Linked DNA regions of Homo sapiens: regions 1, 2, 3, 4, 5 and 6 are each linked to region 7. Evidence: promoter capture Hi-C in 16 types of primary human blood cells and fetal thymus (Javierre and others, 2016). All regions are on one chromosome and are shown on one strand. The core of a region is centred on a gene start or on the middle of the fragment in contact, and the rest is flanking DNA. Distances in the headings are between cores, read along the strand shown. Region 1 overlaps RYR3 (ryanodine receptor 3). Region 2 overlaps RYR3 (ryanodine receptor 3). Region 3 overlaps RYR3 (ryanodine receptor 3). Region 4 overlaps RYR3 (ryanodine receptor 3). Region 5 overlaps RYR3 (ryanodine receptor 3). Region 6 overlaps RYR3 (ryanodine receptor 3). Region 7 holds the start of RYR3 (ryanodine receptor 3).

Region 1 (2,704 bases), core at 136-2,635, 460 kb before region 7:
TAGCTGAGAGCTAGACAGGCAGATGGGAAATTCTGGTCCAGAACAAAAGTGGAAAAAGATAAATATTATATACTCAAATTAGGGAATTTCTTTCCATTCCAAGAGTATATTACTTCTTCTTCTTCTTCTTCTTCTTTTTTAATCTAAGAAAGAAAAGGCATGGAATAATTCTCTCTCTGCTCTGCCCTCAAGGTCAATGTAAGTGAATGGGCCCTGCACCTCCTATCTGGGGCCATGTGCACATACATCCACGACAAATACCAGTAGAACTCACAGAGTAGATCCATTCCAAACTGATGCTGAGTGACGTGCTCAAAGATGGACGTCAGGATGGGGAGCAGAGCCACTGTAGTGTAGTTAATATTCTGAGAAACGCCTTTAATCTGCGTTCGGGAATGGGTGAACTTCCCAAGTTTCAGGTTTTCTGAAGTCTTCTCCAAATCTTCTGCAGCATTTTCAAAGAATGCTCGTAACCCAGCCTTCACCAGCTCTGAGCCTGACTTCATGACAGTCCTGCAAGCAAACAATGTTCAAATCTAGAAGCATAATCTGAACTTTTGGCCAATCCCCTTCTTGAAACTGGCAGTGTCATCTGGGCAGACATTTGCCACTCCTGTCACTCAATGACACTGTGTCAGGAGAAAGGGAGAGAGCAGTTAACATCCAGGAAGAAACCTGAATCACACAATCCCAGAGGGGCTAGCCACTGGACAGTCTGAGGAAAACATTGCTCACCTCTTCAGGAAATGCAGAGAACAATTTAGAATGAAGCCAATATTGGTCACCCACTATTATCTACAGTAAGTTGCAACTGGCTAAAGTCTTCTGTAAAGATCTAGTTAAAAGAACAGGGAAATGAGCTTTAAGAAAAGTTGTGGGATAAACAACTTTTTTTTTTTTGAGACAGCGTCTCACCCTGTCACCAGGCTGGACTGCAATGGTGTGATCTCGGCTCACTGCAACCTCTGCCTCCCAGGTTACAGCAATTCTCCTGCCTCAGCCTCCCGAGTAGCTGGGATTACAGGCACCCGCCACCACGCCCAGCTAATTTTTGTATTTTTAGTAGAGACGGGGTTTCACCATGTTGGCCAGGATGGTCTCCAATTCTTGACCTGGTGATCCGCCCGCCTTGGCCTCCCAAAGTGCTGGGATTACAGGCGTGAGCCACCGTGCTCAGCCTAGATAAACAACTTTTATAAAGGTTAGCTAGAAACATAAACTCTTCCGATGTAAGACCTCTTAGAGGAAAAGAGCAAGGAAATAAGTCAACAGAAGCTTAGATTTCTGTTAGTTTGCGGGAAACGTCCTAGGTTGGATGAGGAAAGAGAAAAGAGACAACTAGCCGTTTTAAAGTAGACAGCTTAATCAGACCTCTGGAAAACACAAAACAAAACATTGAAATGTGATCTACAGGGATGAAGATCAGCTATGGAGATTTGAAGCCTTCCCTCAAAACTACAGTATTTCATAAAACTTAGAATTGGAACAAAGCTTACAAGTCATCTATAAGTTTTGTATTTCTATATCTTATTCAGAAGATTATGAAAGACTTGGTTCAAGGACAGATGCTTTTTATCTACATCATTTTCCTGATAATCATTCAACTCATCAAGACAATACAAACAAAGAAATAAAGTCAGTTAGGCTTGTTCTTATCCTATAAGTATTCATGGGCTATCTTTCTAACTTTTTTTTTTTGAGATGGGGTCTCACTCCGTTGCATAGGCTGGAGTGCAGTGACCTCTCATGAGAGCCTCCCATGCTCAGCAATCCTCTCACCTCAGCCTCCCGAGTAGCTGGGATCACAGGCATGTGCCATCATGTCTGGATAATTTTTAAAATTTTTTGTAGAGATGGGGGTCTATGTTGCCCAGACTGGTCTTGAACTCCTGGCCTCAAGCAATCCACCCACCTCTGCCTCCCAAAGTGCTGGGATTACAGGCGTGAGCCACTGCATCTGGCCCTTCCTAACTTTCTAGTCCCAGGTTTTGTCAGGAATAATTACTAAACACACCAACCTGCAACTGACCTTCATTTAAAACAAAACAAAACAAAATAAAACAAACAAACAAAAAACTGGACTCTCTCAAGACTTTTCCCAAGTTTCTTGGAGTAAAGATTTCTCATCCCTTTAATAGTCCTTATTCTCCTCCTTTTTTATAGCCATTCTCAGTTCATTGTGGATTTTCATCTTTGGGACGCTCTTTTAGTGTCCCACTCTTTTAGGTTGGTAACCTCTTTTGCATTGGGTCTTAGGAGGTGTGTCCTCCTCCCAATTTTGATAAAGACGTTTCTTTCTTTTTTTTTTTTTAAAGATGAGGTCTCTCTACATTATTCAGGCTGGTCTTGAACTCCTGAGTAGCTTCGACTATAGGCAGAAATCATGGTGCCCGGCTCTGACAAGGACCCTTCTTAATGGGCATGTTAAAGAAAGGTCCCTGTCAGTTCTTTCCACTGCTTCTCTCTTATTTATATATATTTTTTAAGACAGGGTCTGGCTCTGTCATCCAGGCTGGAGTGTAGTGGCGTGATCTCAGCTCACTGCAACCTCCACCTCCTGGGCTCAAGCCATCCTCCCACCTCAGCCACCCGAGTAGTTGGGACTACAGGCATGCACCACCATGCCTGGCTAGTTTTTGTATTTTCTGTAGATGTTTCACCATGTTGCCCAGGCTGGTCTTGAACTGTTGAGCTCAAGCGATCT
Region 2 (2,700 bases), core at 128-2,627, 440 kb before region 7:
ATGGTTTTCAGGGACTCTCGCGCAGGCCAGCGATAAATTTCCTTCTCCTAGAAGAGAATTTGAGCAGAAGCACTTTGCAGAACACACCCCAGCATTCTCCCTGGCCCATCTCCGCATGGAAGGTGCATCCCACTGTGGGTGGGGGTGCTAGTTAGCACCAGCCTTCTCTCACAAGGTCAAAACATCCTTTGTGGCATCTTACCCGAAACACAGTCTTTCTGGTGTTTTTAGATATAAGACCCTACGGTCTTTCCTGCCCTGGGAGGAAATGTGCCAGACATTATTAATGACATTATCTACATTCTGTAGACGAAGAACAGGAATGGGAGAGTGGCTCCTCATGTTCTAGTAGTTGTTGAAGATTGTCAAAATGCATCTGCATAAAGCTCTCCTGTGAGTTTGGGAAAGATAATTTCTTAGATTTAGAATTCTTGTGGGCTGGGCACGGTGGCTCATGCCTGTAATCCCAGCACTTTGGGAGGCCGAGGCGGGTGGATCACCTGAGGTCAGAAATTCGACACCAGGCTGGACAACATGGTGAAACCCCATCTCCACTAAAAACTCAAAAATTAGCTGTGCGTAGTGGTGCATGCCTGTAGTCCCAGCTACTCGGGAGGCTAAGGCAAAAGAATTGCTTGAAGCCAGGAGATGAAGCTTGCACTGAGCCAAGATTGCACCACAGCACTCTAGCCTGGGTGACAACAGTGAAACTCTGTCTCAAAAAAAAAAAAAAAAAAAAAAGGGTGACAACAGTGAAACTCCGTCTCAAAAAAAAAAAAAAAAAGATTTCTCTTTTGGTCTATGTACAATTTAATAGGTAGTCAACATGAATGCAAAGATACATACACCAGCCTTTACATGTGACACTAGGCCTAGGCCTAAAGCTTACTAAGAATCTTACAGATTGCAAGATAAGAATTCAGAGTTGAGTTAAACCAAATACGTTAATTAATTAATTTTTTTAAGCAAGAGATGCATTCTCTTAACCATATTTTCTTGAGGATTCTCTTCTCTATTACCTGTATCTTCCATGTATTAGAAATCATTTTTGGCTGGGCATGGTAGTTCACACCTGTAATTCCAGTGCTTTGGGAGGCCGAGGTGGGAGGATTGCTTGAGGTCAGGGGTTCAAGACCAGCCTGGCCAACATGGCGAAACCCCGTCTCTGCTAAAAAATTACAAACATTAGCTGGGCATGGTGGTGCATGCCTATAGTTCCAGCTACTTGGGAGGCTGAGGTGGGAGGATCACTTGAGCCCGGAAGGTGGAGGTTGCAGTGAGCCGAGATCACACCACTACACTCTAGACTGAGTGACAGAACGAGACCCTGCCTCAAAAGAGAAAAAAAAAAAAAAAAGAAGAAAGAAAGAAATTATTTTTGTCTGAATTTTTTCTTTTTCTTTTCTTTGAGATGGAGTCTCGCTCTGTCACCAGGCTGGAGTGCAGTGGCGTGATCTTGGCTCACTGCAACCTCTGCCTCCCGGTTTCAAGCAATTCTCCTGCCTGGCTAATCTTTGTATTTTCAGTAGAGATGGGGTTTCACCATGTTGGCCAGGCTGGTCTTGAAGCCCTGACCTCAAGCAATCCTCCCACCTTGGTCTCCCAAAGTGCTAGGATTACAGGCATGAGCCACCACACCCGGCCTTGTCTGAATTTTCTCCAGCAATTTCACCGTGCCTTCTCCCTGCCCCGCCCTAACCAAACCCCTTCCTGGTTCAGTTCAGTTGCAGAACTACAAATGCATTTTGGCCCAGCCTCAAAGTGCTGAACAATGCTTCTTTCACCAATGGCCTCTCAAAGCCAAAGAACAGAAAGTGAGGCTGGGCTCTCGGAAACTGGTCCTGAGGCACTTGCCCACTGGCAAGCTTGTGAACAGTTTACTGAGTCCTAGATGATGATGTTGTAGGGACGTGAGAGTGAATGTGCTCTGAACTCCTCTGATAAAATCACTCAAGGAAGGAAACAGCATGGTCACACAGTGTTACCAGAGGCCTGCTTCTTACCTTCTCCGTTAATGTCTTGAAAGGCCTTATCAGTGGGTGGGTCTTCACATTTTCATCCAGGGAAATCCCATATTTCCATCCACTCTGACTCTGTAGAAATGTTCTCAGTTCAAATATCCTTGGCACGCAAAGAACCCCGCTATGTGACCCAAATCCCTGCTTCTATTTTCATGGAGCAAGTGGAGTAATGGATAGTGACAGGGCTTAGAAATTCTCCTCAAAAATGCCTAATTGATCTTTTCAGGCCATCAGGCTCTCCGCCTCCTGAATCTTGAACTCTGCTCTTTTATTCCTTCTTGTTTCAGTTGCTGTCCTCTCCACTTTCTCACTTGTATTTCAGGCCCTCTTAAAACAGCATGTTTCAAAAGGCCCTGGGAATGGTGCTTCTCAGGTTAGAGTACTCCCCTCGCAGGAAGAACAGAGGCTAGGACTGGAAGGCCTGGGAAGACTGGACCTATTGCCACTGCCTAGAGGGGCCATTTGCCTTGCAACCCTTGCCTGCCAGTGCCAGAGCAAAAGTGTAGTGATGTGTGCTTCCTAGAGTCACAGAAGTTTAAGAACTTTTAGGGTTATTCAACAAATATTGGGTGAATGTCTTCTATGGTACACACCAGACTCTGTCCGAGGCACAGTGGATACAGAGATAAGTAAGAGCCCCTGATTTCTGTAACTTCACATCCCCAAGACTCCTGGCTGC
Region 3 (2,805 bases), core at 225-2,724, 410 kb before region 7:
GAATTCAGTTCCTCCTACACAACTTAGAGTGGCCCAGGTATAAGATAATAACAACTTGGAGTAGAAAGTGGCCAGTGGAGATGGAGAGAAGATAGATTTCAGATATCTTTTAGATGCTGAATCAACAGAACTTGGTGATGGACTGGATGTGGGAATAAGGAAAAAAGTTGATTCAAGGATGCTGTCTAGACTTAGTCTGAGTATCTGAAAAGTTGGTGGAGCTAGTTAAGGAGATGGAGAATCCTCGGGGAAGAACGGGTTTTGGGTGGTAATTACATACTCAGCTTTAAGATGTACAAAATTTAAGATGCGTATTAAACCTTCAAGTAGAAATACCAGGTAGATAACCAAGATATACAAGTCTGGGGCTCAGGGAAGAGGACAAAGCTGGCAAAGTACATCTGGGGATCATCAGTGTATACGTGGAATTCAAAGCCATGAAACCATGCAGGGTGGATGGTGCAGTAGTAGCCCAGATATTTTGAAGGCCAGTATTTAATCGCAGAATTGTGCTAAGATTTTGCCCATGTGTCTAGAGTTTGGGTCTATGTAGCTTTTTCATGAAATATGCCAAATAAAACTTGAATGCCATAGAAACCTGAAGTCAGAAGGTGTGCTCTGACAAAATATGGGCATTCTCAATAAGATGATGAAAATCAGCCTTTGATGGGCACAAGGATCATAATACTGCCATTTTGTGTGAATAATGTTGATGAAGTGGATTTTTTTTTTGTTTCATTCAGCTTAATTCTAGTTTTATTGAAGTATCAGGCTTCACTTACTACTCTTATCAATGAAATGGTTGATGAAATCCACATACGTATATTAAGTAGGTTCTGGACTTTTGAGTCCACTGCCAAGACACTCAGTTATCACTATCGTTGGAATCCCACAGGGGCCTTGGAGGCAAGCTGCTGAGAAATTCACTTAGGGTGAAAAGAATGTAGCTGATATCCTTTCACCCCAGCCAGCTTTCCTCATTTTGGTGCTCTGGGCCTAGGTTTGCCATTGGCTTCTTTATTTGAGGAATTTGTTTTCTATTACTGGTACTGTTTTGACTGTCTGCTTATTTCTGGACTTTGATGCTGTTTCACTTTGAATTTTTACAGATGGAGGCACATTTCCTTGCCTCTGTCACTAGAAGCCCTTTACCTGTCTGATAGATTTCCTTTCCTTTTCTCAGGTATAAAGATTCCAGGGAGTCCAGTGGGAGAACGAAGAAGGTAGGGTATGCAAGACTGTACACGCTTTATACTATGGTTTGAATCATGGTGCCTCCTCCGAAATTTATGTTGAAACTTAATCCCTAATGCAACAGTGTGTTAGGCCATTCTTGCATTGCCATAAAAAAATACCTGAGGCTGAGTAATTTATAAAGAAAAGAGGTTTAATTGGCTCATTGGTTCTGCAGGCTATACAGGAAACGGTGCCAGCAACTGCTTGGTTTCTGGTGAGGCCTTGGGAAACTTTTACTCATAGCAGAAGATGAAGGGGGAGCAGGTGTCTCAGAGAACGAGAGAAAGAGTGGGAGGAAGGTACCACACACTTAAGCAACCAGAGCTTATGAGAACTCACTAGTGTGAGGACAGCACCAAGCCAAGAGGCATCTGCCCCCATGATCCAAACACGTCCCACCAGGCTCCACCTCCAACATTCGGGATGAGAATTCAACATAAGATTCAGAGAAGACAACATCCAAACCATATTAAACAGTATTAGGAAGTGTGGCCTTTGGGAGGTGATTAAGTTATAAGGATCTCTGCCCACATGAGTGGGATTAGTACCCTTATAAAAGGGTTTAAAATTGAAGGGATGGTCTCTTGCCCTTCAATTGATTCTGCCATGTGAGGACACAGTGTTCCTCCTCTCCAGAGGATGCAGCAACATGGTACTATCTTGGAAGCAGACAGCAGCCCTCCCAGACATCAATCTTACTGGTGCCTTGTTCTTGAACTTCCCAGTCTTCAGAGCTGTGAGAAATAAATTTCTGTCTTTATAAATTATCCAGTCTCAGGTATTTTGTTGCTGCAGTATAAATGGACTAAGATACCTTACAGTTAGTACAAAGGTGTAACATAGATGTTAAGAATCCAGCTGCAACTAGCCATATCTCAAATGTACCTTATATTCTACCTTCTTATCACTCTAGCATGATTGTATCTCCTGAGTACAACATTGCGATGTTGTTCCTATTTGTCTTAAACTGTTATTTAAATCTTTTGCCATTGGTTAATTTTTCAAGAGCTTGCTGAATCTTTTCAACTGTTTTATAAATTTGAGAACAAAACTATGTGTCACACATTTAGTCCTAACCATGCCTAGTCTAGTACCAATCACACTGAAGAATGGTTAACATGCCCTTTCTGACTCTAAAAACATGAATACAAGGGCAGAAATAAACCAGATGATTCTTAAGTGTCTACACCTTGTATGCCCTTCAAAGCTAAGATGACACTTTGTACTCTCAACCCTAAAAGATGTATGTCTCCCAGCACAACAGTCTATCCATATGCTCTCCCTTTAGGACTTTGTTAAACTATATCCATTTATTTCAAGATGTTATTCAACACTTGCCTTCTTCCTCATGCATCCCTTGACTAATTCTACCAGATTCCAATAAACACCATCATTTTGGCATGCCAATGTCTCATGTGTCACTATGTAGGTAGGTGTGGTTGATTACAAAGTTTTTAGTAATTATTCCATACATGTTTCTGATCACTCTACTTGGGTTTTCTCTGTTTCCTGCTTTGAGTTGTAGGAAGTGACTTCTGGGCAGGACTTCTAGAGCATCACGTTTCACAG
Region 4 (2,700 bases), core at 157-2,656, 380 kb before region 7:
TATGCTTCTCGATTTCCCTTTCCTCCTTAATTTCATCACTCAGGAATTCAACAGAAGCTTTGTCTCCTTTGGTGTGCAGTGCACAGCCGCTGTAGCCCCAGGCACAGGGCGTAGGAGGGCCTAGGAGGCCCCAGGAGGCCAGGCTGCCATGCAGACCCCATACACATGCACACTGAGCAGCGCAAAGGGCCGGGCACAGGACCTGGGCGCTGCTGGAGTGGTGGCGCAGGCATGGTAGCATGGAGGGCAGCAACTGCAGAGCCCGGGGCACCAGGCATGCAGCATCACAGAGGCGACCACCAATACGTATGGATGCACTCCTAGTTATTACTTACGTAGTAAGAAGGAAAGCAAGACAAAAACAAAGACTCTTGGACCCAATTTAAGTTTTTCTAGTCCCGTCAGTACAATTTCCTCTAAAACCTATACCTTGGCTTGAAAGAATTATAGTTCTCACGACTAACAAAACAATTCTCTGCAGATATAATACATGCTATCCCAGTCCCTGCCACACTGGAAAAGCAATAATCAGATCTGGTGGAATTGCTAACCTGCTCAAGGACCATCTTCTCTTCAACAGAGAATTTTACAGAATCATAATAAAACCAAGTACATATGAGTTTCCTTTAACCTGGCTTTCAGATTAATTCAGGATTTGGGTAAGCTCTTAGCCTCACACTGACTCAAAAATCCAAACAAATATTTATGGCCTAGAGAGCATGTAAAGCAAAACACCTCACTAGAGGGCAAAATGGGAAAGAAAACACCCTTTTAGCCTCAAAGCATGAAGCAGCAAACACCTGCCACTCCATTCTTTGTCCAGGCAAGCCTTCAAAGTAAGTGTCAGAGAACGGGATAAATATTTATGTGTGACCAAGCTGAAGTACAGTTAAAAAAAAAAAAAAAAAGTAGTCCCCAGGTCCTGCCAGAAAAGGAGGCAAGACTTACCGCTGTGTTGCTGACAGGCAGATGTAATTCCATGGAAGGCCTGACATTTAAAGCCATATGTACTGGAAAATGTTTCAAATTGTGAGACCAAGGTGCAGTAAGTGAGAGAAACAATAACTATGAAAAGAAATAAAATTCAGGGGGAGAGGGGCAGAAGGGGACATTTTCAGGAGCCATGAAAAGCACAACATATTTTGTCATCTGACATATACTAGAGACCCAGGACCCACCAAGCAAACCCAGGCACAACCAATGAACTTCTCAAGGTCTAAACACTTTTGGGATGGAGAAAATGGAGCTTTATACCCCTAGCAAGCAATGCTACTAAAAATTCTTCAGATTTTAATTAGCTCCCGTGCATCAGCAGCAGAGCAGCCAAAACATACCAGAGTCCAGAAGTTAAAAAGAATACATTTTCTAGATTGTGTTAGGCTCTCCATATACCTGTATATCTGATGATTAAAGTAATTAATGCATATAACCATGGATGGCACATACTGCAGGTTTAATAAAGGTGAACTATTACTGACATCTCTACCAAGAGTCATAAAAATGTGATCTGCAGAGCCCTGGGGGCCCAAGACCCTTTAGATACCCTTTAAGTCCAAATGTGTTTTCATAAAAATTCTAAGATATTGTTGGCCTTTTTCATCGTGTTGATAATTGCACTGATGGTGCAAAAGCAATGCTGAGTAAAACTGCTTGTGCCTTAGCTTGAATCGAGTTAGCAGCACCCAACTATATTTTTTATTGCCACACTTCCAGATAAATGCGTTTCACAGAAGGATGTCCTGAATAAAGCAGTAAAAATTATTAATTTTATTAATCATAAACTCTCGAGTTTACATCTTTAAAATATCCTCTGTGATAGAATGGTACAGAGAAAGAAAAGAAGTAAAGCACTTCTGCTATGTATTAAAGTTCAGTGTTTTTTTCTGGAGGAAAAGTACTTGTGTGATGGAGTTGTGAGCTGAACTAGCTGCTTATTTCATGAATGCCATTTTTAATTAAAGAATAAGAAACTATGGTTAACTTGAACAAATGAAAAAAATGAAATGAAAAAAATGAAAAAAGTAAGCCTTTCACTTCAAGTGATAGTATTTGTTGCCAATAATGAAATTTGACCTTTCAAGTGAAAATCAGAATTTTGAAAAATGTTTAGCTGCCACTGGGAGCTCGACAGCTTCCCAGTACTTAAAGACTTTTCTGATTAACCTGTCTATACTAACAAATGTGATTTTTAAACTATTTTATAATGAAATGTGTCAAGATTTTGAAGTTCTTATTAACTCAACGAACCAATAATCTCTCAATGATCAATGAATGACATTACAAAAACATTCTTAGGTAAAAGATCCATTCAATGTGCAAGATAGACCAATGAATTGTTACATAACAAAGTACAGACATCTAGTTAATATGGTTTCAGATTCCACATGCCAACTAACTTTTCAGAAACTACTACTTGTTCAGATATAGTTTTACAGAAGAATATCCATAATTATTGGAAAAGGCTATGAAAAATACTACTACCCTTCCAATTATGTATTTAAGGCCATTTTTCTTCCTATTCTTTAACCAGATATAAGAATCCAGCTGCCTTCAATTAAGTCAGACATTAAAGAGATTTATAATCATGCAAAGAAATATCACTTTGTTTTGAAAAATTTAGTTTTCATAAAAGTATCTTTATGTAACATGTAATAAGGTTTTTATTTTTAAATTAATAAATATTTAAATATTTGTCAATTT
Region 5 (2,700 bases), core at 14-2,513, 340 kb before region 7:
ATGCATGGGGAGGCGGCAGTGAGCACAGGAGAGGGCCTCTGCCCTCAAGGAGCTTACCTTCTAAATGAGGAACTTACATGCCCATGGATTGCGCAACCAGCCCAGATTTAGCACTGCCGTGGTATGCCACTGACAGTTTCCCTTTTGTATTTGAGGCACCTTTCATCACTGGCTGATCTGTTTTGTCCTTGCAATAATGGACATTCTTTTTCTAATCATGTGTGAAGGTCATGGCACAGGAATGGGCCTGAATTGAAAGCTAACCCCTCTTGTAAATCCAAACCTCATAGCTGCCTGTGTCTCAGACTGGTGTGCCTGGAGTGGCAATCACTGAGGAGTATCTCTTGAATGTAGATTTTATTTCTCAAATTCGCCACTGATTATATTAAGTGGACAGAAAAATGTGTTCAAATTGTTTATCACTATTTAATGGGGAGGTCTAGAAACATTGTTTGAGAGACTCCTTCTCTCATTATTTTGGTTTCTAGTCCTTTCTGAATCTGAAAGCCAGTGTATAAATATTGCTGGACTGTTCTTCTTGACATAATTGAAAAATGAAAATGGCTACAGCTGTGGAATAACAACGATCCCACTGTCAGGGACCAAATGCATGGCAGGACACGTTACTGTCTCGCCTGGAATGAGAAGGGGGCTGGCTGGGTGTGAACCTCTCAGGTTTCTGGACAGAGTCCTGATACTGTCTCCTTTGCGGCAGCATTCTTAAGGGCAAGAGTCAGGACTGGGATCGCTGAGCAGGGTCATCAGGATTTCTATGCACAGGGTGGAGGAAGGCTCTCCAGGAGGTAGGGTACCAGCACCCAGCCAAAAGAAGACAACTGACCAGCCTATGTCACCCAGAAGGATGGTGAAAGGTGGGCTAAAGCTGTCACAGTGTCCTCCTCTTCAACATCACAGGTTCTTTCCTGAAGCAGGCAAGTCACTGCTGCTGCAAATGCCATTTTAAAAAATTAATTATTTTTTTTGAACTTCCAAAGATCAGCTAGTCTTAAAAGTTATGAGATGCTTTAGCGTCCTCTGCAGCTCAGGGAGGACCCTTCAGTTAAACTCATTTCTAAAGTTAATGGGAAAAAGCTAATGGATTTTGAAGGACAGCAGTAATGTATATAAAACATTTCTCAGGGGATTTGGGGGTGGAGGAGATAGAATCATGAAAAAGTACTAGAAGAATAATACTTTACTTTCTGCCTCAAAGCCTGGCTTTGTGAGTGCATCTTTCTGGAAATAGCTGGTTGGGCCCCAGCTGCTGAAGCAAGCGTGCCAAGTGGTGATGATTCCACTTTCTCCCAGGAAGAGGAGGAGGTGCAGAGAGGGTCATGCACTGCAGGAGGTGCTGGAGAGACAAGGTGGCGGCCTCTGTGCCAACAGGCTGCTCCCCGCCCCCAGGAAGGGTTTGGTCCATCTGTTCTTAGTCAATGAACATTTCAGATGGGAGGTGGCTACTCTGTCTGCTGTCTACCTTACCCCCTCTCTCCAACCACAGGCCAGAGAACTGGCTGCCAAGAGGCTTTTCAGCCTGAAGGCTGTAACCTGAGGCTGATTTAAGAATCAGGGGTTTTATCCATGTACATCATAGCAGGATGTTTTTAATTTGCTATAGTTAGGTAAACTGGTGACCCTGAAAAACTGTTGGATGCCCTAAGTACGGCATGCCACTCTCCTGCTCAGAAACCTTCAATGGCTCCCCATTTCCTATCTATATCTCCCTAGCTTTCCAAACAAATTTCTTACCAATAACCATAAGAGCCCTATGCGATGTTGTCCACAGATCCCCAAACACACTTTCTGCTTCCCTATCTCCATGATACTTCTTGAGCTATGTATTCAACACTCTTCTCCTTCTACCCATGAAAATTCATTCTTTTTTTTTTTTTAAGACAGGGTCTTACTCAGTCACTCAGAGTAGGGTACAGTGGAACAATCATGGCTCACTGCAGCCTTGACCTCCCCGGACTCAAGTGAGTCTCTTAGCCTCCTGAGCAGCTGGGACCACAAGTGTATGCCACCACACCCAGCTAATTTTTCTATTTTTTGTAAAGCTGAGGGTCCACCATGTTGCCCAGGCTGGTCTCGAACTCCTGAGCTCAAATGATCTGTCTGCCTCGGCCTCCCCAAGATACTGGAACTACAGGTGTGAGCCTCCATGCCTGGCCCGTAAAAACGCTTTTTCCTTAAAAAAATAAATAAATCAAGATTTCTCCTTAATGAACATTCTCCTGACTGCTTGTGATGGAGTGAGCTCTTCCTTTTTTGAACTCGTACAGCGTTCTCTGTCTACAAATACTTGTGACTCTCCATTCTACCTTGGAGAGTCGAGAATGTTTAACGTAGACATTAACCTCCCATCTCCCATAGTTTGCTCTGTGGAACTCTAGGTTCATAGAACATTATTGATTCTTAAAATTAAAAAAAGTGCTTTTCTTTGTCAAATAATTTGAGAACTGCTTGGTTACATAGGTTTCTTTCTGAAGTATTTCTCAAATATTTCAGTGTGCTAATAACCTTCATTATAAAACTTCAAGAGGTGGATGTGATATGTGGCAGTTTCCCAACCTTACCTGGCCATCAAGGATGAAGAGATCAGGCTGCTTGTGGTTAATGACAGGTAAACCTACATGTGTATAACAGGTGGTTTTCCTGAGTAGCTCTATGGAAGTTCACGGTCCAGGAAATGAGGAAACA
Region 6 (2,866 bases), core at 158-2,657, 320 kb before region 7:
TTAAAGTGATCTTAGCAGTTAGCTGTCCAGTCCAAGAGTTACAGCCTCAAATGTCTGTAAGTTGACTGATAATGGGAAGAAGTGGAAGAGCTCTATGTAGACACATCGTGTAAATGCAGAAGACTAGGGCACACTGCGGAGTGAAACCTTAGGAAAGCAGATTGTCATGGCCATGTGGGAATATGAGTTTAAAGGTATCTATGGCCCTAGGGCCATTGACTGCCTAGGCCAGGGCCAGAATCCAACAGTGATGAACCACAGACCAGGGCTCAATCCATCCAGGACCTCTGAGCAACATGAGATGCAGGGTCTATTGTAGGTAGGTATAAGATAAAGTTCTGCATCCACCTTTTCAGGATGCTGCCCTTGGGCAGAGTCAGGATGCACTGACTGTTGTGTCCTGACCTCAGCAGCTCTGGCCAGCAGCCTGTTCCTCCACTGCAGCCTGTCAGATGTGCTTTTCTTGGTACTAGGAGTTGCGTGTGTGAGAGTGGATCTTGGAAGTTTAAGAGGAAAGAAGGGGGAAGATAAACGTTTGATTAAAGCTGGCACTGCTTGGCTCCTAAGTAATGATGACACCTGTGTGTGAATCCATCTGCATATCTGCTGGCATGCATGAGAGCAAACAAGCAAGGGGGCCAGTGGATGTGCCGCTGAGCAAGCATTTGAATGTGCAAGGACAAGAAATGTGCAACTGTGTCTGAATGTAGTGGGAGAGAGGCAGAGCAGGACACAGGCAGATATAGGAGGTCAAACGAATGGTGGCAGAGATACCCCTTCCACAAAGGACTTACAAGGCTGGTCCAATGCCAGAGGAGTGACTCTCTGTCATGGCTGGGAACCACTTTTCAGCTTTTGTGCTGAATGCTATTCTTATAGATCAAAGACAGTGCATCCATCTGACCTCCTGGCTCAAAACTAACAATATTAGTGTGAGGTCCAGGTGGAAGGGGCAAAGAGAGGGAAAACCCTGAAATACTTCTTCACCAGGCTTCTATCTGAGGGCTTCAGTGTCATCTAGGAAACAGGGGAGCCCTTCTGAGCTGGTGCTAGCAACTATGTGGGCTGTTGTCTGTCTTGGTACCACCCTCCTGGATTAAAAATCCAGGCTGAAGCATTAAAGTCTTGAACCATTAAAAAAAAAATCACCTACTTTTTGGGCAGTTTGACCTTCTTGAGATCCTCCTCAGCAGCTGGGTTAACATGAGCAATGTGGCACCCCAGGGCCAAGAGGGTTCTGTGACACAACAGAAGGAGAAGACTAAGGTTAACTGCAGTGTTAGGAACAGCAGGAACCCTAATTCACATCCGAGTTGAAAACAGACAAGAGCCATTCATTTAGCCCAGGGGTCAGTAGACTTTTTCTGTAAGGGGCCACAGAGTAAATGCCTTAGGCTTTGTGAGCCATATGTCTCTGTCACAGCTACAACTCTGTGATTACAGAGCAAAGCCAGCCATAGGCAATATGAAAACCAATGAGCTTGACTCTGTTACAATAACAATCTATTTACAAAAATAGGTAGCTGGTCTGATTGTCCCATGGGCCATAATTTGTCAACTCCCGATTTAGATGATAGCAAGCATAAGATTACAGAAGAGAAATTTGTTAATTGCCCCTCTTGGAGACATTTTTCTATTTTATAAATTTGCATTACAATTATATGCCTCTTCGAATTCCATGGAACAGATAGAATTCTAATATCCAGCCCACAGGTCAGCAAATATTTACTGCATGATGCCTGTAAGGGCATGAGCTGTGCTTAAAACCATGAAGTACAAAGCCATACCCTCAAGAGGTGCCAGTGTAATTGAAGGTATCCCATGTAAGCCTGTGGGACAAGGGACCTTACGGAGCATCGTTATGCCAACAAAACCACAAAGTTAAAATGTTCTGCAGTGACAACTAGAGAACAGGGAAATACAAAGACAAGAGAACAGGTAACAAGCCCCCAAAGAATTCAAAATGGGAGATAACAATTTAGGCTAGAGAAGTTAAAGTCTAAATTAGGCCCATGGGTAGCATCACGGAGAAGCGAAAATTATTTTAAAATTGAATTTTAGTGTATCAGATCAGGTTTCCCAACGGGTTTTAGAAATGCTTCATTTTTTTTCCTTTATTTAATGTGAACTGCAGGAGGTACTTGGTCCTTTGATTCTAAGTTTCTTTTCTGCCTCTTACTTTTTCCCTGCCCCTAGCAAATAGCAAATGGTTTAAGAAATATAGTCAATAATAATGGTGGATGGTTATGCTAAATCCTCTTGTGACATGATTCATCATCATCTCCTCTAATTTATCAGAATGTGCCACGTTTTCAGGCAAGAGACATATCTTTGCAGTTTAGTTATAATGCATTAAATCATCTATTCATTGTTTGTAAAACTTCAGCTCAATTAAATACTCACTTTAAGGTTTCAGTTGACATTTGCAGGTTATAGTTCTTCTCAGTTTCTGGGAGCTTTGAAAACTCCACAAGGCAAGGGTGTTGTCTTTTATTGTCATCTCGTATCTAGGTGGTGACATAAGAAAGAATGTGATTTAAGTTTTGACCAGCTGGCACTGCATGGGAAAACAGAACAGAACATACTTTGAAACATGGCCCAGGCAATCCATATCAGGCAAGAGAAAGACAGCAACTTGCTATTCGGCAAACAGATGATCTCTCTAGTCAATGAGACACACAGTCTCCAAGTTGCCAGTGGTTTGTGCTCCGTGGATTTATTTCTAGACAGGCATCTGCATTTTGAACATACTTTCCGAAAGAAGCAGTGCTACATGTGGCAGCCATGCTCTTGTTCCTCCAAAATTCATGTAACCATAACGTTTCTGAAGAGGAACATTCTTCAGCATAGGACAGGCTACAGAATC
Region 7 (2,700 bases), core at 61-2,560:
AGATGGACAAGAGGTAAGTTGTGATCTTCGAAGACCAGGTCATGGAGAAGGGGGCACCCTTAAAGGGAAGTGAGAGAGGGAAAGAAAGAATTTCATTCTAATTCCTGAGAGCAAGGCAGCGCATATAAAATTACCTAAGATTTACAGAGCGATTTGCCGTTTACAAAACATTATGACATTCACGATAACGTTTAATCCTTATCACCCTGAAACGCTGGTTACATTTTATTTTACACATGAGGAAACTGAGGCTGAGTAGGGCGGATTATGCGACTTGCTCAAGGTCACTTGGCTGAAGTCAGCGCTAGGATGCATCCCCAATGCCCCCACCCCTCCGGGTGGCCGTCCACCCTGAAAGTCTTTGTATTATCTCCTACAGGGCAAGGCTGGTGTGGCTGCAACAGACTTCGCCCCCTCACCCCCAAATCTGGGACGGAGCAGCGCCCTCAGGTGTCAAGGAGGGGACCTGAGTGACGCGGAGCCACTGACTGGGGTTTCCCTGTCCTGCGGGGCTCGCGGGAGCCAGGAGCAGAAGCCACAGCTCTCGAACACACGACAGGCAGTCAGTCAAGTCAGGCTCCAGCAGCAGTTGCCGGCGTGGGGCTTAACACGAGAGGGGCAGCGCTGGGTGAATTCCCCTCCGAGCGATCCCAGGGCTAGGACCAAGCGCCTGCGCCCGCTTCTCCGACCCGGCTCCCCACACTCCCCCCTGCCCCGCTGGCTCCTTCCCGGAGGTTCCCCTGTGCGTGGGGGCGCCCTGGAAGAGGAATGGGGCTGGGGTGGAGTATGGAGGTGTCAGAGGGCCGACCCCGGGGCGAGGGCTTCCAACGCCGATCTTATGGGTCAGGACAACCGCGAACAAACCCCGGCTGAAGTTTGGGCATCAAGGGTTTCAGACCAAGTAGCAAGTTGCCTGGAGAGCGAGCGGTCCTAGGTGGAGGGCCTGGGGCAGGGGTGGCGGTAGGGGAACAAGGGAGAGGCAGGAGATGGTGCCCCTTCCCACGCAGCCCCTCGCGGCCCCGCGGGTAGGTGGCCGGTCCGCCTCTGCAGCCCGCGGGTGCGGAGAAAGCGCCCGGCACCGGGCACCCGGCACCGCGGCGCAGCGCAGCCAGCCCCTCCTCGCCGCGCTCCGCGCTCCTCCCCACCTGCCCACGGCCTCGCCCCCGCCGCGGAGACTCACAGTCCTCAGAAACTGGATCTCGTCCTCGCCTCCTTCTCCCCCTTCGGCCATGGCTCCCGAGGCGTCGGCGGTGCCCCAGCCTCCGGCGCCTCTGCTTCCCCCGGCAGCCGCTCGGCGTGCGCTGACTGCTGCTGCGCTCTTTCTCCTCCTCCTTTTCGTCCTCGTCCTCCACCTCCTCCTCCAGCTCCTGGCTCAGCCTCAGCCTCAGCAGCGCCAAGCTAATCCCCGACCATATAGGGAGCTGGGCTAACACTCCACTGCACTGCAGAGCGCCAACGCCAACCAAGCAGTCCGCCCACCCCTCTCGCCTCTCGCCCCAGCCAAGTGCGCTGCGGCCGCCCGCTCCGTGGAGAGCGCAACGCTGGGCGCGTCGAGCTGGCGGGGGCGGTGCGGGGGCCCTGGGCTGGCGCGGTGGAGCCTCCCCCGCACCGCTGGGTACCGCACCGCACACTCAGCGGAGGCGCGCGCCCCGCGGCGACCGGAGGATGTCCCCTAAACTGCTCCAATTCACAAACAAAGGCCAGTTGCTTAGCTCCAGCGCGCCCAGACTGGGTACCAACCCTCTCGCTTTGCTCGCTTTGCCCGCTTTGCCCACTTTGCCTGTGTGTGTGTGTGTGTGTGTGTGTGTGTGTGTGTGTGTGTGACAGAGATAGAGAGAGAGAGAGAGGAAAGAGAGAGACAGAGACAGAGAGAGAGAGAGAGGAAAGAGAGAGACAGAGACAGAGAGACAGAGAGAGGAAAGAGAGAGAGACAGAGACAGAGAGAGAGAGAGAGAGAGAGAGAGAGATCTGGACTCGAATACCTTGCTAGGACCCGCGTGCATTGTTGGGCAAGGAGAAGACGGTGCAGTGAGGAGCGAGGGTGATTGTCCACTTACAACAAAGTTTGCAACTCCCTGGATAGTCCTTTCTACACCTTAAGAGAACCCCTTCCCCTCTTCAAAATTGGTAAGTACACTTTACCAAACCCCTGGATTGTCCAGGGTTGCTGTGACTTCTGTACCCCAGGGAGCTTCTGGGGGATCCTGTGCCACCCTCAATTTGGAAGTCAGGTGGCATCACAACCCTTCCTCTCTGCCCACCCCTAACCTTATTCTGCATTTAGAGTTCCAGCCCTGTGGACTCTAAAGGGAGTAGAGAGTAGTTACAGGAGGCTCCCTTCCAGGTCCTGGAAGGCTCCTACATCCCACCCAGCCTTAGGTCCTTTTCCATGGTTGGGGATTGCCAGATTGGTCCTTGCCTTGACTGACGGTGCAGGGTGCCCCCTTCTGTTTGATGGCCGAGAAGCTCCAAGGCAAGAGACTGTTCAAGGCAAAAGGCACCAGAGATGTAGATTTAGGAGGAAGTGCAACTGGGAAGGTGGTAATTCTGGGCTGATGATGGTGGAAGACACTGGAAACCCCAAGCCATTTCACAGCTTCATATACCGCCTCCTTGTGGACGACATCTATCTCTTGATGCTACCTTAAGATCTCTTTCCTGAGCTTCCGTCCCATATGTTCTGATGAACATCAGAAATGC

What was found. The method cuts DNA at HindIII sites, captures the fragments that hold promoters and counts their contacts. A CHiCAGO score of 5 or more calls a contact.
Region 1: a contact is called between a fragment that was not itself captured here and the fragment with the promoter of RYR3 in region 7, in 4 of 17 cell types (megakaryocytes, endothelial precursors, erythroblasts and 1 more). The highest score is 6.7, in megakaryocytes.
Region 2: a contact is called between a fragment that was not itself captured here and the fragment with the promoter of RYR3 in region 7, in 3 of 17 cell types (megakaryocytes, endothelial precursors and erythroblasts). The highest score is 10.7, in megakaryocytes.
Region 3: a contact is called between a fragment that was not itself captured here and the fragment with the promoter of RYR3 in region 7, in 6 of 17 cell types (megakaryocytes, erythroblasts, M1 macrophages and 3 more). The highest score is 24.0, in megakaryocytes.
Region 4: a fragment that was not itself captured here is called in contact with the fragment with the promoter of RYR3 in region 7 in 8 of 17 cell types (megakaryocytes, erythroblasts, M2 macrophages and 5 more); the score reaches 40.1 in megakaryocytes.
Region 5: a contact is called between a fragment that was not itself captured here and the fragment with the promoter of RYR3 in region 7, in 6 of 17 cell types (megakaryocytes, erythroblasts, endothelial precursors and 3 more). The highest score is 18.2, in megakaryocytes.
Region 6: a contact is called between a fragment that was not itself captured here and the fragment with the promoter of RYR3 in region 7, in 4 of 17 cell types (megakaryocytes, erythroblasts, M1 macrophages and 1 more). The highest score is 15.4, in megakaryocytes.

The regions. Positions count from the first base shown.
Region 1 is chr15:33,769,729-33,772,432 of GRCh38, reverse strand. RYR3 (ryanodine receptor 3) reads right to left here. Exons shown (of 104, transcript NM_001036.6): 63 at 275-513. Among named protein-coding and RNA genes, the nearest start is that of CHRM5, 200 kb to the left of the region's middle. The HindIII fragment of the contact is 216 bases long and covers 1,278-1,493 here.
Region 2 is chr15:33,745,461-33,748,160 of GRCh38, reverse strand. It overlaps RYR3 (ryanodine receptor 3), which reads right to left. Exons shown (of 104, transcript NM_001036.6): 53 at 2,004-2,093; 54 at 1-47. Among named protein-coding and RNA genes, the nearest start is that of CHRM5, 220 kb to the left of the region's middle. The HindIII fragment of the contact is 981 bases long and covers 887-1,867 here.
Region 3 is chr15:33,714,802-33,717,606 of GRCh38, reverse strand. All of the region lies in intron 43 of RYR3 (ryanodine receptor 3), which reads right to left. Among named protein-coding and RNA genes, the nearest start is that of CHRM5, 250 kb to the left of the region's middle. The HindIII fragment of the contact is 3,302 bases long and covers 1-2,805 here.
Region 4 is chr15:33,690,828-33,693,527 of GRCh38, reverse strand. The region is part of intron 38 of RYR3 (ryanodine receptor 3); the gene reads right to left. It also overlaps the pseudogene C1QBPP3. Among named protein-coding and RNA genes, the nearest start is that of CHRM5, 280 kb to the left of the region's middle. The HindIII fragment of the contact is 2,693 bases long and covers 60-2,700 here.
Region 5 is chr15:33,653,703-33,656,402 of GRCh38, reverse strand. The region is part of intron 32 of RYR3 (ryanodine receptor 3); the gene reads right to left. Among named protein-coding and RNA genes, the nearest start is that of CHRM5, 310 kb to the left of the region's middle. The HindIII fragment of the contact is 5,067 bases long and covers 1-2,700 here.
Region 6 is chr15:33,629,581-33,632,446 of GRCh38, reverse strand. RYR3 (ryanodine receptor 3) reads right to left here. Exons shown (of 104, transcript NM_001036.6): 22 at 2,404-2,507; 23 at 1,154-1,237. Among named protein-coding and RNA genes, the nearest start is that of RYR3, 320 kb to the right of the region's middle. RefSeq lists a silencer at 331-550. The HindIII fragment of the contact is 3,990 bases long and covers 1-2,866 here.
Region 7 is chr15:33,309,577-33,312,276 of GRCh38, reverse strand. RYR3 (ryanodine receptor 3) reads right to left here and starts at 1,310. Exons shown (of 104, transcript NM_001036.6): 1 at 1,181-1,310. The coding sequence starts at 1,231. It overlaps RYR3-DT (RYR3 divergent transcript), which reads left to right and starts at 1,618. Exons shown (of 3, transcript NR_120327.1): 1 at 1,618-1,699. RefSeq lists enhancers at 68-577, 578-1,089. The HindIII fragment of the contact is 6,631 bases long and covers 1-2,700 here.